Linked DNA regions of Homo sapiens: region 2 is linked to region 1. The links are contacts of gene promoters, found by promoter capture Hi-C in human tissues and cell types (Jung and others, 2019). All regions are on one chromosome and are shown on one strand. Each heading gives the region's core, a stretch centred on a gene start or on the middle of the fragment in contact. The rest is flanking DNA. Distances are from core to core; before and after follow the strand shown. Region 1 holds the start of DGAT1 (diacylglycerol O-acyltransferase 1). Region 2 overlaps ZNF7 (zinc finger protein 7).

Evidence for each region. Contacts are between HindIII fragments. The study calls those that stand out against the background at their distance.
Region 2: a fragment that was not itself captured here is called in contact with the fragment with the promoter of DGAT1 in region 1 in 2 of the 25 tissues and cell types used here (dorsolateral prefrontal cortex and spleen).

Annotation. Positions count from the first base shown.
Region 1 is chr8:144,324,727-144,328,660 of GRCh38, reverse strand. It overlaps DGAT1 (diacylglycerol O-acyltransferase 1), which reads left to right and starts at 1,809. Exons shown (of 17, transcript NM_012079.6): 1 at 1,809-2,224. The coding sequence starts at 2,025. RefSeq lists silencers at 1,383-2,102, 2,113-2,182. The HindIII fragment of the contact is 53,552 bases long and covers 1-3,934 here.
Region 2 is chr8:144,836,918-144,840,851 of GRCh38, reverse strand. It overlaps ZNF7 (zinc finger protein 7), which reads right to left. Exons shown (of 5, transcript NM_003416.4): 4 at 3,345-3,461. It also overlaps a transcript of COMMD5 not described here. Among named protein-coding and RNA genes, the nearest start is that of ZNF7, 11 kb to the right of the region's middle. RefSeq lists an enhancer at 1,446-1,999. The HindIII fragment of the contact is 3,694 bases long and covers 1-3,329 here.

The DNA.
Region 1 (3,934 bases), core at 560-3,059:
GGTCCAGTGAGGGCGGCCCCACTCGGCAGGCTACACAAAGGGCATCTGCCAGGTAGCTCCAGCCTGCCTGATACCTGGTTGGCAGCAACCCACAGCGGCCTGTGGTGACAAGAATATGTCACCAGGGGGGCAACCAAGGGGGCAGCCCTGCTGGCCACTGTTGGTGGAGGTGGTGGAAGAGGACGGAGCTCAGAGGCGAGGCTGTGACCAGCCCACGGGAGAGGACCCCACCTCAGGAGGAGCACCTGTTTGCTTCCAGAGAAGTGCTGCTTGCCCCTGCTCACCCCAGAGGAATGAAGGTGTTTCTAGAGTCAGAGTCCTCAGTGAACCCTGGCATCCTGAGATCCAGGATGTTCTCACTCCATGCCCTGTGCAATATGCACACCAAGCCAAGGTGGGCCGCAACTGTGGCTGTTACAGTTGATTAGTTGCTTCATTTAACATACAAGATGTCTGGGGCAGTGGCTCATACCTGTAATCCCAGCACCTTCAGAGGCCGAGGTGGGAGGATTGCGTGAGGCCAGGAGTTCGAGACCAGCCTGGGCAGAATAGCGAGACCCCCATCTTTAGAAAAAATAACAACAGGCCAGGCGCGGTGGCTTGCGCCTATAATCCCAGCACTTTGGGAGGCCGAGGTGGGCGGATCACGAGGTCAGGAGATCGAGACCAGCCTGGCCAATATGGTGAAAGCCCGTCTCTACTAAAAACAGAAAAATTAGCTGGGCGTGGTGGCACGCGCCTGTAGTCCTGGCTACTCGGGAGGCTGAGGCAGGAGAATCGCTTGAACCCAGGAGGTGGAGGTTGCAGTGAGACGAGATCGCGCTACTGCACTCCAGCCTGGCGACAGAGTGAGACTGTCTCAAAAAAAGAAAAAAGAAAACAAAAAACAACAGGGCGGTTGCACAGGCCGTGCAAATGCACAGAAGCCTCTTGAGTCCCGGCGATCCAGCGGCCCAGACTTCTGACATCCTGGAGAGGCTGGCCCACGTTGGAAACTGGGAGGCCCTGAGAGTTGAGGGACGTGGAGCTCCTTGTGGAGAGAGTGGGTGGGCTGAGAAGACACCACCAAGGGGCCTGCGCCCTCGCCCTCGCCCTCGCCCTCCTCTCGCCGGGCTCTGCAGGCGGGGAGGTGGAGAGCCTGGGAGTCGCGTGCAAGGCAGGCGTCCCGGTGACGCAGGGCCTGGTGCATTTCTCCAGCTTGGTCTTCTGACCTGGCCCTTGTCTGACGTCCCCCTAAGGCGAAGAAAAGCAGGTTCCTGCCGGGGTAACCAGAGGGCTCGCGGAGCAGAAGCGCGCCAGGGACGTTACTGTAAGCTGCGTGCGCAGAAACCAACGCGCTGGGTGGCGGGCGACGCGAGCCGCCGCGGACACCGGCCCGGACAGCTGGACCGTGGCGCACTAGGCGCTTCCTAAATGATTGCCCGGAGTGACTCGCCGAGACCCCGTGTGTACACAAGTGGGACGAGGGGCGGGCGCACAGCGGCCAGGAAGTCGGGGCCCAGCGCACCCCTCAGCGGACCATCCCGCTCCGTGGGGCCGGACAGGACCCCGGGACCACGCGGGAGCGATGCAAGGTCCGTTCCCGCTGCGCGCACTTGCGGCCCGCAGCCCCGGCCCTGGGAGCTGCCACGGCTCCCAGGGTGCTCTGCGCCGGTGCGGCCGCGGCGACTACGACTCCCAGGGTGCTCTGCGCCGGCGCGCCCGCGGCGACTACGACTCCCAGGGTGCCCTGCGCCCCGTCAGCCTCTCCAGGCCCCGCCTCAGGTCGGCCGCGGACTACAAATGGACGAGAGAGGCGGCCGTCCATTAGTTAGCGGCTCCGGAGCAACGCAGCCGTTGTCCTTGAGGCCGACGGGCCCGACGCGGGCGGGTTGAACGCGCTGGTGAGGCGGTCACCCGGGCTACGGCGGCCGGCAGGGGGCAGTGGCGGCCGTTGTCTAGGGCCCGGAGGTGGGGCCGCGCGCCTCGGGCGCTACGAACCCGGCGGGCCCACGCTTGGCTGCGGCCGGGTGCGGGCTGAGGCCATGGGCGACCGCGGCAGCTCCCGGCGCCGGAGGACAGGGTCGCGGCCCTCGAGCCACGGCGGCGGCGGGCCTGCGGCGGCGGAAGAGGAGGTGCGGGACGCCGCTGCGGGCCCCGACGTGGGAGCCGCGGGGGACGCGCCAGCCCCGGCCCCCAACAAGGACGGAGACGCCGGCGTGGGCAGCGGCCACTGGGAGCTGAGGTAGCGGAGCGCCTGACCCCCTAACCTCTGACCCAAGGGCCCCGCGACTTTCCGGGGTTGGCCGAAGCGCGAGCTCCGAGTCCGAGAACATGGGCCCTGGGCTAAGCGGGGATCGGTGTGCCCTATGGGCCCTGTGGGGAAACTGAGGCTTGGGGAGAGTCACCTGACAAGGTCACTGGGTAGGGGCTCTGGAGCTGGCCTTGGCCAGGCAGAGGGGAGCCGGCAGGTGTCCCGCATCCAGATCCTCTTGGGTCTGTGCATCCTCAGGGGCTCCTGAGGAGCTTTTCGAGGGGCGGGCTGGTGGGGGCCCGGCCCTGGACAGTGTCCCCTTATATGGAAGGAGTCAGATAAGATCTGGGCAGTTTGTGGTGATAGGTTCCTTCTTGGTGCTATGAGCGGTGCCTTGCGGGTAGGAAAGGCTCCCAGAGGAGGGCTGGCCTGCCAGGGAGGGGGCCAGAGGAGCCCAGGCCTGTCCGAGGACAGGGGAATCAGCAGCTGCCCCGGACAAGGGGCAGTGTTAGAGGCGTTCTTGTCCTTGCAGACCCTTCTGAGAGTGGCTGCGTGGCCCATTCATTGCTCCAGTGGTTAGGCTGGCCTGGAGCCCTGCCGATGTTGCCAGAGCCAGCGTCTGTTGTAGGGACAGAGAGTTGGGTTCTGTGTTGGGACTTCCATCCTCCAGGTGGGGAGTGGGGTATGGGGGTGGTGGACACACCTGCAGGCGTGTGCCCTGCTCAGCTGGATGACTGACAGAGAGGGGTGGAGGGAGAGAACCATGGCCGATGGGAAGGACTTGGCCAGCCTGGGCATTGGCTTCCTCCACCAAGCTGGCCTTGAGCAATCCCCTTGCCACCCTCCATCCCCCCTTTATGGCCTTTACCCTGGCCCAGGGGCCCTCAGGGCTTTGTTTTAGAGAGCAGCTGAGGGCCTAGAGGTTATCAAGGCAGAAGTGGGCTGATTTTGGACATGTAGTTGGCAATGATTTGCTCTCTCAGTGAGCAAGAACAGAGCTTTCCTTCACGGGGCACCATGGGGAGGGGGTTGGGGGAGGGCAGGCACTGTCGTGGCCCTCAGGGTGCTCAGTTCATCTGGGAGATAAGATAACCTCAGCGAGAGTCAGGCATGGAGCAACATGGACAAAGGTCGGGCACGGAGGCCTTGAAGGGGCCGTGGGGAGGAGGGTGGCCCTCCTGAGAGGGGTGCTTGCCTGCTGTGGGCCTGGGGTGCTGGTGAGGGAGGCTGGCCTAGGCACCTCCTACCTGAAAAGGAGGTGTGGCTCCTGGAGTTACCCTCTCTCCAGGAGGCAGGGGGATGGCTACATGACCTGTGGAGGACGTGGGAATTGAGATTTCTTTTTTTTTCTTTTCTTTTTTTTTGAGACTAGTTTTGCTCTTGTTGCCCAGGCTGGAGTAAAATGGCACATTCTTGGCTCACTGCAACCTCTGCCTCCCAGGTTCAAGTGATTCTCCTGCCTCAGCCTCCAGAGTAGCTGGGATTAGAGGCGCCCACCACACCCGGCTAATTTTGTATTTTTAGTAGAGATGGGGTTTCTCCATGTTGGTCAGGCTGGTCTCGAACTCCTGAACTCAGGTGATCCACCTGCCTTGGCCTCCCAAAGTGCTGGGATTACAGGTGTGAGCCACCGCGCCCGGCCGGGAATTGAGATTTTTTTTAGTGTGAGATGAGGGTAGTCCCAGCTTTGGGCCAAGCCGC
Region 2 (3,934 bases), core at 233-2,732, 510 kb before region 1:
GCCGTTCATGGCTACTCCCTGGGGTGGGCTTCTCTGAGCAGGACCCAGCCCCCTCAGCTGCCTCCTGGCTGCTGCTGCCAACTTGCACCTGGCCACCTCCCCTGCTTCTCCCTGGGCTGTGCGTGGCCACCTCTAAGACCACACTGACTTCTTCCCTGGGGCTGCAAGTTTCTGGAGGCCCCCAGGAGGCCTTCCAGACATCTGCGTTCCTTCTGGACTCTCCAAGTAAGCACAGGCTTCTGTCCTACTCTGTAACCCTAGAGGGCACCTCTGCTGAGGTCAGACATCTCCTTGATGTCTGTGATCAAACCATGACAGGATGCAACCACAACACACGGCTATGATCATGACAACCACGGTCCCCACCACGACACAATCACGTTCACAACCACAACCACGCAGCCACAGCTATAACCAGCCCGAGTCTACCCCACATGAATGCACAGCCCAGTTACAGGGCTTCAAGCTTCGGTTCCTGCCCACTCCTAACCATTGGTGGTGAGTCTCCGGCTTCCAGGGATCTCCAAAGGTCTTCCTATCAGTCCTGGAGAATCAGAGCAGGAAGCCCTTTCAACCTCATTGTGTAGCAGGGATGCTCAAGGCCTGTGAGGACAGGAGGCATCTCCAGGCCTGGTCCTCATGTGCTGCTTTCCCTGCACAACCACACCACCTCAGCATGCCTGCTCTTTCAACAGGGCTTGCTTGACACTCCTCCCAAGCCTTCCCCTGCTGTGAAGATAAGAGAGCAGGGTGGCCAGGTGCAGTGGCTCACGCCTGTAATCCCGGCTACTTGGGAGGCTGAGGCACAAGAATCACTTGAACCTGGCAGGCAGAGGTTGCAGTGAGCCAAGATCATGCCACTGCACTCCAGCCTGGGCAACAAAGACTCCATCTCAAAAAATAAAAAAATAAAGAGCAGCGGCAGAGAGAGCAGGGCCAAGCTGACAGCAAGGCTTTGTTGGGGGATGCCAGGAACCACCCAGCAGGGGGCACGGTGGTGGTCAAAAGCGTGGGGGTGCACAGCTGGGACCTGGCCGCTCCTCCACTGCTCTGGGCCAATATCTTTCAGTATCTGATGCTGACTGTACCAGCTGGGGACAAGTAACATATCTGGGCATTTCTGCCTTGCTTCATGTATTCTGGTTTTGTGCTGCTGCATGTTTTATCTAAGAGGCTACATCCCTGCCCCGGACTCTCAGGTCTGCGAGCAAGTGCTGGGTCCATCAACAGCAGCTCTCACCTACTGTGGGATTCTATTTTTTTGTTGTTGCTTTATCACAGTGAGGACCACCTGCTACATATAAACCCACTGAACTATTTCTGCCAACTGTAGCTGGCTTTTCTGCCATGGCACCCTCTTTAAACGCTCCTGTCCATGTTGGAGACATTTTAATGGGCGGCTGGGTTTTAACTGGGCCACCTTATAGCTGAACCTCCTTCTCAGGGAGACTGAGCAGAAAGGATCACATGGGAGTAGCCAGCAGAGCCAGTGAGGCCAGGGTTCCTGACCACTCTTCCCACACATCACATGCAGACTTCCTGGGCGGCTGCAAGGCCCACAGGGCGTGAAGAGGCTCAGAAACCCTCCTTGTCCTTTGAAGCTGCCTAGGGGCATATGAATGGAAGTAAGGTCACAGCCCCTAGGCGCATATGAATGGAAGTAAGGTCACAGCCCCTAGGCGCATATGAATGGAAGTAAGGTCACAGCCCCTAGGCGCATATGAATGGAAGTAAGGTCACAGCCCCTAGGCGCATATGAATGGAAGTAAGGTCACAGCCCCTAGGCGCATATGAATGGAAGTAAGGTCACAGCCCCTAGGCGCATATGAATGGAAGTAAGGTCACAGCCCCTAGGCGCATATGAATGGAAGTAAGATCACAGCCCCTGCTTTTTTTTTTTTTTTTTTTTTGAGACGTCATCTCGCTCTGTCGCCCAGGCTGGAGTGCAGTAGCGCAATCTCGGCTCACTGCAAGCTCTGCCTCCTGGGCTCACACCATTCTCCTGCCTCGGCCTCCCGAGTAGCTGGGACTACAGGCGCCTGCCACCACGCCTGGTTAATTTTTTGTATTTTTAGTAGACACAGGGTTTCACCGTGTTGGCCAGGATGGTCTCGATCTCCTGACCTCGTGATCCGCCCACCTCGGCCTCCCAAATCGCTAGAATGGCCGGCGTGAGCCACCATGCCCGGCTCCACGGCCCCTACTTTTCACAACTTTGGACTGTCCAACTTGCTTCCCGAGGCCCCTACAAGCCGGTGGCCTCTGTAGGACCTGGTCCTGCCCTGCTGCAGGAGTGACGGTGATGACCCAGCAGCAACTGAAAGGGAGGTGAGGGGCTTCCTTTCTGCAGCTGAGATGCACGCAGACCCATCTCCCTTGTCATGCTGGGCAGCACACCGGCTAAGCAGGGGAGCAGAGCACCAGGCCGGGCGCCTGCCCAGCAGGAGCTGATGCCGGAGGCAGTGGGTGCCCTGGTTAGGGCTGAGGACCCCAAGATAGGCTGAAGTCCTAACTTGAAGCACCTCAGAATGTGACCTTGTTTGGAAACACAGTCGTTGCAGATTAATTAGTCACCATGAGGTCACTGGGGTGGCCCCTAACCCACCATGACTGGTGTCCTTCTAAGGAGATGGCCACATGAACACAGACACGCAGGGAGAAGGCAGCCGTGTGAAGGAGTCGGAGATCAGAGTGAGGGACGCATCCACAAGCCAAGGAACCCAAGGACTGCCAGAAAACCACCAGCTGCCCGGAGAGGCAGGACAGGATCCTTCCCTAAAGCCTTCACAGGGGGGCACGGCCCTGCTTGCTGACCCCCCGGTTTCAGATTTCCGGCCTCCACAGCTGTGAGACAATAAATTTCTGTTGTTTTAAGCTTCCTAGTCTGTGGTTCATTGTTATGGCAGCCACAGGAAAGTAATGCACTCCTGGAGCCTGAGAGGGTCTGAAGGGAGCTGCCTCAGGGAATATGCTTACCCGAGGAGAGGTTACTGAATGCCAAACCTAACCCTTCACTTGGATCCATAGGTTTGTATCTTTGCTTAACGAAAGTATGAGTAAAATTAAAAATAGAACAAAATGTGACATGATTCAAAAACAAGCTCCGTTTTTGTGGAAATGCATGGGTTTTTGTGTCTTGGCTCTTCTGCAGTTTGGCCTCTCCCAAGGCAGCCCCACAACGGGTCTATGCTCCCTTCTAGGTGCTGGATGCTGCTTCCCCAGTAGCATTCCCAGGCATCCCAGTGTAGCCCCCGCGACTCACCCACAGCTACCCACAGTTGTGAGGCCCCTCCTGCAGTTTCTCCTCACCCCAGGGCTTCTCTGCGATGGGATCTAAGCCTCACCTGTCTTGGAGGTCCTTGGTGCCTCTGTCCCCTCTGCTCCCTGCAGGTCGAGGACCCATGGCTCTTCTCCCTGCTCCAGCCGAGAGATCAGCTCAGGCTTGAAAACCAGGAATCCTGCTGTGTGTGCGGCAGAGAAGACAACAGTGTCAGCATGACGGGAAGTGTGCAGCACAGGGCTAAGTCTTCCCCAGTTTCCAAATGGAAAGGGGCAGGGGGGCTACAAGGCACAGGCCAAGCTCCTGCAGGGAGAGTGGGTGGAGGGTGGGGAGAATCTGGGGACACAGCAGCCCTTTCTGTCCAGATCTGTCCACCTCCTGTGGCTGGACAGCAAGGGATACCTGACTCCCACAATCTCCAGGCGACCCTGTCACCAAACAGTCTGCAAAGGACAGTCCGCCTCTACCCCTGGAACTCGGGAAAGAGAAGGAGAAGCCCAAGCTTCACTTAGCAGAACCGGGCCTGTCCCTCAGTTCAGAGAGCAGAGATGCTCCAAGAGGCAGGGGTGGTTACAAAATAAGGTAACAAACAACGATGAATAGACACAAACGAAGCACATTTTGCATCAGAAAGCTCCAAGGTCCAGTCCTCAG